3 separate regions of the Homo sapiens genome follow, and regions 1 and 2 are each linked to region 3. The links are contacts of gene promoters, found by promoter capture Hi-C in human tissues and cell types (Jung and others, 2019). All regions are on one chromosome and are shown on one strand. Each heading gives the region's core, a stretch centred on a gene start or on the middle of the fragment in contact. The rest is flanking DNA. Distances are from core to core; before and after follow the strand shown. Region 1 overlaps MIR4527HG (MIR4527 host gene). Region 2 overlaps MIR4527HG (MIR4527 host gene). Region 3 holds the start of SKOR2 (SKI family transcriptional corepressor 2).

The links. Contacts are between HindIII fragments. The study calls those that stand out against the background at their distance.
Region 1: a contact is called between a fragment that was not itself captured here and the fragment with the promoter of SKOR2 in region 3, in 2 of the 25 tissues and cell types used here (dorsolateral prefrontal cortex and mesendoderm cells).
Region 2: a fragment that was not itself captured here is called in contact with the fragment with the promoter of SKOR2 in region 3 in 2 of the 25 tissues and cell types used here (dorsolateral prefrontal cortex and mesendoderm cells).

What each region holds. Positions count from the first base shown.
Region 1 is chr18:47,538,115-47,540,814 of GRCh38, forward strand. All of the region lies in intron 1 of MIR4527HG (MIR4527 host gene), which reads left to right. Among named protein-coding and RNA genes, the nearest start is that of MIR4527, 160 kb to the left of the region's middle. The HindIII fragment of the contact is 3,776 bases long and covers 1-2,700 here.
Region 2 is chr18:47,556,443-47,559,142 of GRCh38, forward strand. The region is part of intron 1 of MIR4527HG (MIR4527 host gene); the gene reads left to right. Among named protein-coding and RNA genes, the nearest start is that of MIR4527, 180 kb to the left of the region's middle. The HindIII fragment of the contact is 3,638 bases long and covers 1-2,700 here.
Region 3 is chr18:47,250,243-47,252,942 of GRCh38, forward strand. It overlaps SKOR2 (SKI family transcriptional corepressor 2), which reads right to left and starts at 1,418. Exons shown (of 9, transcript NM_001278063.4): 1 at 1,132-1,418. RefSeq lists an enhancer at 1,286-1,802. The HindIII fragment of the contact is 10,120 bases long and covers 1-2,700 here.

The DNA of each region.
Region 1 (2,700 bases), core at 15-2,514, 290 kb after region 3:
TATGTTCATTTAACTAGTTGAACTAAAGCTAGATACTCTTTCACAAAATTAGTTTTTTTAAAAAAGATCATAAATTGCCATGTGCACACTTTTCTCCCCTGCTGGGTTATTGAATCCAGTTTGGTCTTGAGAGGTCACACTCTCAAACCTCTGCTCCTGCCATGAGTGGACTCTATAGCACCCAGGCTAAGTCACACAAGCATAGGGTCACAGGTTATGGAAAGAGCCTCAGCAGAAAACCAAGAGGACTTGGCTCAAGTGCTAGCTCTTCCAGAAGCTTCCAGCAGTGGAACATCAGGTTGGTAACATCACCTTTAGGACAGCAACACTGATCTAACCATGTCAAAGGTTTCCCTCAAATCTGAAATTTTATGACTGTGTGTCTTAGTGATGTGGGGTAGATTTGAGATTGTTGGAGGGAAGTGCATTGGGCAATGCCAACATCTATCCAACATCTACCATGTGGCAGGTGCCAGAGTGGGCACCAGGGATACACCAGTAATTTAAATACACAAACATCCCACCCACGGGAAGTTTACATTTCAGGGTGGGAGACAGGCAACAGACAGATAAATAAATGAGTATGTAACAGATTGAGAATATGTCCTGTGCTAAATTCTAGCTAAGAGGGCAGGATAAGAACCAAAAATTCCCTGTAAGACTTGGCAGCAGGAAGGTAAAACTGGGGACCTGGAGAAGAACAGTTTTGTTTTTTTTTTAATACTTTAAGTTCTAGGGTACATGTGCACAATGTATAGGTTTGATACATAGGTATACATGTGCCATGTTGGCTTGCTGCACCCATCAACTAATCATTCACATTAGGTGTTTCTTCTAATGCTATCCCTCCCTCAGCCCCCTACCCACTGACAGGCCACAGTGTGTGATGTTCCCTGCCCCGTGTCCAAGTGATCTCATTGTTCAGTTCCCACCTATGAGTGAGAACATGCGTTGTTTGGTTTTCTGTCCTTGTGATAGTTTGCTGAGAATGATGGTTTCCAGCTTCATCCATGTCCCTGCAAAGGACATGAACTCATCCTTTTTTATGGCTGCATAGTATTCCATAGTGTATATGTGCCACAGTTTCTTAATCCAGTCTATCATTGGTGGACATTTGGGTTGGTTCCAAGTCTTTGCTATTGTGAATAGTGCCACAATAAACATACGTGTGCATGTGTCTTTATAGTAGCATGATTTATAATCCTTTGGGTATACACCCAGTAATGGGATTGCTGGGTCAGATGGCAATTCTAGTTCTACATCCTTGAGGAATCGCCACACTGTCTTCCACAATGGTTGAACTAATTTACACTCCCACAAACAATGTAAAAGCATTCCTATTTCTCCACATCCTCTCCAGCATCTGTTGTTTCCTGACTTTTTAATGATTGCCATTCTAACTGGCATGAGGTGGTGTCTCATTGTGATTTTGATTTGCATTTCTCCAATGGCCAGAGATGATGAGTATTTTTTCATGTGTCTGTTGGCTGCATAGAAGTCTTCTTTTGAGAAATGTCTGTTCATATCCTTTGCCAGCTTTTTGATGGGTTTGTTTTTTTCTTGTAAATTTAAGTTCTTTGTAGATTCTAGATATTAGCCCTTTGTCAGATGGGTAGATTGCAAAAATTTTCTCCCATTTTGTAGGTTGTCTGTTCACTCTGATGGTAGTTTCTTTTGCCGTGCAGAAGCTCTTTAGTTTAATTAGATCCCATTTGTCTATTTCAGCTTTTGTTTCCATTGCTTTTAGTGTTTTAGTCATGAAGTCCTTGCCCATGCCTATGTCCTGAATGGTATTGCCTAGGTTTTCTTCTAGAGTTTTTATGGTTTTAGGTCTAACATTTAAGTCTTTAATCCAGCTTGAATTAATTCTTGTATAGGTGTAAGGAAGCGATCCAGTTTCAGCTTTCTACATATGGCTAGCCAGTTTTCCCAGCACAATTTATTAAATAAGGAATGCTTTCCCCATATCTTGTTTTTGTCAGGTTTGTCAAAGATTGGCTGGTTGTAGATGTGTGGTGTTATTTCTGAGGCCTCTGTTCTGTTCCATTGGTCTATCTCTCTGTTTTGGTACCAGTACCGTGTTGTTTTGGTTGCTGTAGCCTTGTAGTATCGTTTGAAGTCAGGTAGAGTGATGCCTCCAGCTTTGTTCTTTTTGCTTAGGATTATCTTGGCAGTGCGGGCTCTTTTTTGGTTCCATACGAACTTTAAAGTAGTTTTTTCCAATTCTGTGAAGAAAGTCATTGGTAGCTTGATGGGGATGGCATTGAATCTATAAATTACTTTGGGCAACACGGCCATTTTCACGATATTGATTCTTCCTATCCATGAGCATGGAATATACTTCCATTTGTTTGTGTCCTCTTTTATTTCCTTGAGCAGCGGTTTGTAGTTCTCCTTGAAGAGGTCCTTCACATCCCTTGTAAGTTGGATTCCTAGGTATTTTATTCTCTTTGTAACAATTGTGAATGTGAGTTCACTCATAATTTGGCTCTCTGTTTGTCCGTTAATGGTGTATAGGAATGCTTGTGATTTTTGCACATTCATTTTGTATCCTGAGACTTTGCTGAAGTTGCTTATCAGCTTAAGGAGATTTTGGGCTGAGACAATGGGGTTTTCTAAATATACAATCATGTCATCTGCAAACAGGGACAATTTGACTTCCTCTTTTCCTACTTGAATACCCTTTATTTATTTCTCTTG
Region 2 (2,700 bases), core at 117-2,616, 310 kb after region 3:
AATTGTGGCCCCCAAAGATGTCCACGCTTTGATCTCCATGAACCTGTGAATATGTTCCTTTACATGGCAAAAGGGTCTCTGTAGATGTGATTAAGATTTGTGTATCTTGAGATGGAAAGATTATTCTGGATTACTTGGGTGGGCCCGATGCAATCACATAAGTCCTTAAAAGCAAGGACTTTTCTAGGCTGTGGTCAGACAGAGATGACAGCATGAGAAGGATTCAATACCCTTTCTGGTTCTGTAAGCAGGAGGTTCTGTGCAAGAGCTGGAAAGAAGCCTCTGGAAGCTGGAGAGGCAAGAAAATGGATTCTCTCCTGGGGCCCCCAGAAAGGAGCACAGCTCGACATCGTGATTTTAGCCCAGTGACACTTGTGTTGGATTTCTAGCCTACAGAACTATAAGATGACAAATTTGTGTTTTTGATAACCACCATGTTTGTGGTAACTTGTTATAGGAGCAATACAAAACAAACACAACTTCCTTAAATATGACCTGGAAATGACCTCTCTCTTCCATCTTCCCCCTAGTCCAAGTCACCTAGACTCCTGCAAGAGCCTCCTCAGGCGTCCTTCCTCCCCCAATCCCTGCAATCAGCTGTCCACCAGAAGCCTAAGTGGTCTTTTGTTTTTCATCTTCTTATTTTGAAATAATTTCAACCAAGTAGAAAACCTGCAAGAAAAATACGAGAATTGTCACGCCTTCATCACCCATATCCATCCATCATCAACACTGTGCCACATTTGCTTGGTCACTCTCTCTCTCTCAGATCATGTCCACCCCTACTTAAGCCTCCAGTGGGTTCCCACTGCCTTGCCCTCCTCCTCATAGCCAGTAAAGGTGGATGTTGCCAGGCCCAGCCCACCTTATCCTGTGTTCCCTGTGCTTGCGGTACCCTGCCCGTTTCCGGGCCCTCCCTCCGCTGCCCTCTGGCTGTCATCTGTGTGCCTCGGCTCTAATGTCATCACCTTCCAGACCCTTTCTGTGATCATTCCACTAAAGCAGCCTCCTACTCCACCGCAGCTGCTCTTTATGGCGTTACCCTATTCATTTTTTTAAAACAGCATTTACCAGGCTCTGATGCCATCCCATTCATTTACTGCCTGCTTGTTTATTGTTCATTCACTCCCTGGTGTGTAGCTCTTTGGGCAGGACTCTGTCCGCCTCCTATCCTGAACTTCTAGAACAGCACCCAGTACATAGTAGTTGCTCAACAAATATCTATGGACTGACTGATTTTCTGTGACACATGACTGAACCCTTTTTGCAGATCCAATTGTTTACAGGTGTGTATCTTTTCTTAAGGGCAGGCGGGATTCTTTCATTTTTAAATTCTCCCCTCTCAGGGCTGGGCACACGACAGGACCCCATCTGGATATTGGGGGATTTTCTCTGAAAGTGCGAGCTTCTCGGTGTGGAGGGCCTTCCTGCCTTCCCCACACACCACGCTAACATCCAGCTGTGTAATCAAATGCACCCCCGAGGGAGGCCCAGGGTCATAAGAATGCCTTCCTTCTCCCTCACTGTTTTTCTTTTAGATTTGTCTAAGTGCTGTTAACTTTGCCATCTTGTCTGTTTTCCTCATGCCTGTTGTGGGGTAAACACACAGAGAGCATTAGCCCCATTTGATGGACGATGAAACTGAAGCAAAGGCAGGTTAAGTGGCTTGCCCAAGGTCACACAAGTAATTAACAGCAGGACAACTCCCCTGGTCCCTAGCCTGGTGCCTTCTCCTGCAGACCACAGAGCAGCAGCCTCTTGCCCTCCCCTCAGGGACTGAGGAGCCCAAACCTGATATTATGGGCACAAAGCTTTTAGCAGATGAGTGGAGGGCAGGAAGCTGTGTGGTTAGGTGAGCTCTGGGTATGTGTGTGTCTAATTGCTCTTCATTTCCTTTCCTTTCATTCACAGAGTCATTCATTCACTCAGGCAGACACTCATTCACGAGGCATTCACTGAGCACCTCCCACCTCCTTGGCTTTCTGTTTGGCGTAGAGGAGGATGCTAGAGAAGGAGGCAGGGGCCTCACAGGAGCCTGTTCTCACACATGGGAGACCCAACTCACATATGAGAGGCGATGAGGTAGGATTGGAGACCCCATTCTGGCAGGAGAGGCATTGACTCCTTTCAGATGAATGGAGGAACTCAGCACAAAGCTGTGCACAGCCACAAAACACTCACACTGGGATTGACTCCCTCCATGCAGGTAACTACCCCCAAGCTCCCTGCTGCTGTCTTCTCTAATAAGAGAACCCCTTCCCATACCCCACTCCCCGGCCCTCTGGGGATGGACTGAGCTTCTCTACCTACAGAACTTCCCCCACAGTGGCCAGTTCACAGGGAGGGACTGAAGATTGACCCAAACCTGTGCAATCAGGATCCTTTCTCAGATTTAAAACCCATATATGAGACAGGGAGCTCTGTTTCTGGGCTGGGGAGTGGCTGTGCTCACTGAAAAGGAGGGAGCATGATTACAAACCTACTATGCTCAGTCTCCTACCTCCATGCTTCAATGACAACTTAAATTCCACAACTTTCTGATCACTTTCAGTGAGGACAATCCTGTTCAGTTCAAAGTATAACTTCAAGTTCAGTTTGAACAGCATCTGTTTGCTTCTCCCCAGTGCAGTCTGAGAGGGTCCCCAACTCTCTTGAGGGTTGTCTGGGGCAAGGATGATAGGGGTATGGGATTGGGGAGGA
Region 3 (2,700 bases), core at 168-2,667:
CTAGGTAATCTATGGGAGTGTTGAAAGTCGAAATCCCAGGTTGGGTCTGTGGTAAAATTTCTAACTTCACCTCCAGTCAACAGAATGCCACAATGAGGGAAAATATTCAGTAAGTTGAAAATACAGAACAAGGAAGCGGAAAGAAATTTTAGTGACAATGCCACTAAGTGGAAAGAAGGAAAGTGGCTCACTCCCTAGGAAAACAAACACTGATCTTTCCACAGCTACATCTCAAGCGCATTGGCCAAGGCATGCTTTGCCCTGAAAAATCACCAGAGGCCATAGCGTGGCCCCTTTCGGCCACGTACAGCGAGTTCGCTATTACAGTGCTTTCAGAGGGTACACGATCTTACTCCCTCACCCAATTTCTTATCCGTGTCCTCTCTCTGGGCCCCTGTGGCATCTATACAGCAGCCTCTGTCCTGCTGCCCCCTGGATCCTCAGTTCTCATTACATTTGGCGGCCTCCAGGAAGCTTGAACAAACCTCGACGCGATCAAAGGAGAGGAAAGCCTGCTTGTCACTTTGGGTGGATCAGAGACAATATTTCCAGGGGACAGGGCGTTACATGGCAGTTCAAGGCGCAGTGACACCCGAGTCTGATACAACCAACACTAGCTTCGTCAGGTGGCCCTTCGATGCTCATTTCCCTACCAAACAAGATTCATATCCGCTTAATAAGACCCTGGGATAATTCCAACTCTCGCTCCCCAGCAAGGCGCGCGGCTGGCCAGCCGGGGCGGGAAGCTGGCTCTGCGTTAAGGACTCGCAGCCTTAGCAGCAGTAGACCAGGCAGAAGTGTCTCCTCACTTTTACCCCAAGCCCTCCCAGAAACTGCCGTCAGAGCAGACACAAGGTTTTGGTTGGGGCATTATTTTTTGGGTGGGTGGGGAGGGGAGAAGAGACAATTAAAAGTTAGTTGAACTGAGAAAGGAACCTGGTGAACTTCCCTATCCTGCCCAACAGCCAAAGACCCCCCCACCCCCAACTTAGTTCTCCCGACTCCCAAACCAGTCACCACGGAAGCCCACCGCTGCCCCTCAACCTAACGCGGAAAATCCTACCGCTGGGGATCTCAAATAGGTGCCCAGCAAGCTGTGTGCCGGATTGGGGCGGCCGGTTCCGGCAATACCTGGTAACCTCTGGGTGTCTTTAGGCGTGTGGCTGCCGGCCCATCTTCCGAGGGCGCTCGGAGGCGAAGCATCCAAGCGGGTCCTCGTATCCAGCGGGCGGGACTCTGGCGGGCTCCGCGCGAAGATCCGGGCTCTGGCCCGAGCGAATGGCGCTCAAACCCCGGCCTGGGGAGAATGACGGCCTGAATTGCGGCGGGGCGTCCCCTCCACCGCAGAAAGTGTGGGTACGCAGAAACCCGCGGCAGGAGAGCCCCAAGTGGAGCGCAGTCTGACAGCGTCTGTCTCTGAACTCGTGTCGGACCGAGGGGACGCCACCCAGCGGGCAGGGTGACGTCACCGTCTCCCTGACACTCCACATTAAAGGGCTGGCATGTTACAGGGAGGGAGGGGGAGAGCGAAAGCCAGCGCGAGCAACAGAGAGATCCTTTCTCAGCAGGCACGAAAGCTACCAACCTAACCAACTCGCAATTGACAACAACCTCCTCAGCCCCGGAGTAAACTGCAGCAATGGTGCTGGAGCCGCAGATCTGATTTAGGAGTGGAAAGCGAACAGTCTGCCTGCATCCCGGGACCTAGATCCTGGAGGCCCCGGATTCTAGAAGGACGCCTCCAAATTAACTATATCCCTGACCGTTATTGTCTCCTCCCCTCATTTCTGAGTCACCCTCCTTCATGAATGATCCCTCTGGTACAGGATGCAAAGCTGCTCTGTGTCTGAAGACAGAATCCACAGTCAGCTGGAGAATAAATTAGCTTCAGTGACTCCTTTGAAACGCTATGAAATGAGAAAAAGGAGAGAAGTTTCCACATAGGGTGCCCAATCAGAAAACTTGGAGTGCCCCGACTTTTGCATATACATTTGCTTTATAGGACAAGATGCAGAGTCACTGCAGCCTTCTCTATTTTATGGAGTGTACAATTAGGTGAGGACCCCAATATGTGCATATGCACATCGATTTATCAAACTTCATTCAGAATCGTCCTCTAACCCATTTTACAAGATCCGTAAGGCTACCTCTACACAAGGAAAGGGTGGGGCAGGGAAGCAGGGAGGTCCCCCACATGGAAGAGTCCTTCAGCAAGTTGCCAATTTTCCTGGAGAAATAAATAAATTTAATCAGGAAAACATGTAGAAGCATGATCTCCTCCCCTAAAATAAAGACTAGGATGAGAAAACATTTCCTCACAGTTTCCCTAAATGAGGCGCACCCTAGTGTATTAATGAAGTGTCAATATAGTGCGTCCCAATTGACCAGCTGTTAAGAGTCAAAACGACCACTGGCTAGTTTATCGGAAAGGAAAGAAACCACTTATTTGGAGTATGTTCTAAGAAGGATGCCGGCTGGGGTGGGGCTGGGAAATCCTTTAAGTTTTTCCTTTACTACCATAGCTGAATTTTCAATTGCTGCCTAGTGAAACAGTCCTAGCATTGTGGAAATGATGGAAAAACATCTACCAAGCTGAAAGCCCACCCAGATTGTGTCATAGCACCAACAACATACCACTCCTAAATACAAGAGCAAAAATGTGAAATCTTAACCTTCATCAAAGGTTAATAAACCCAAGGA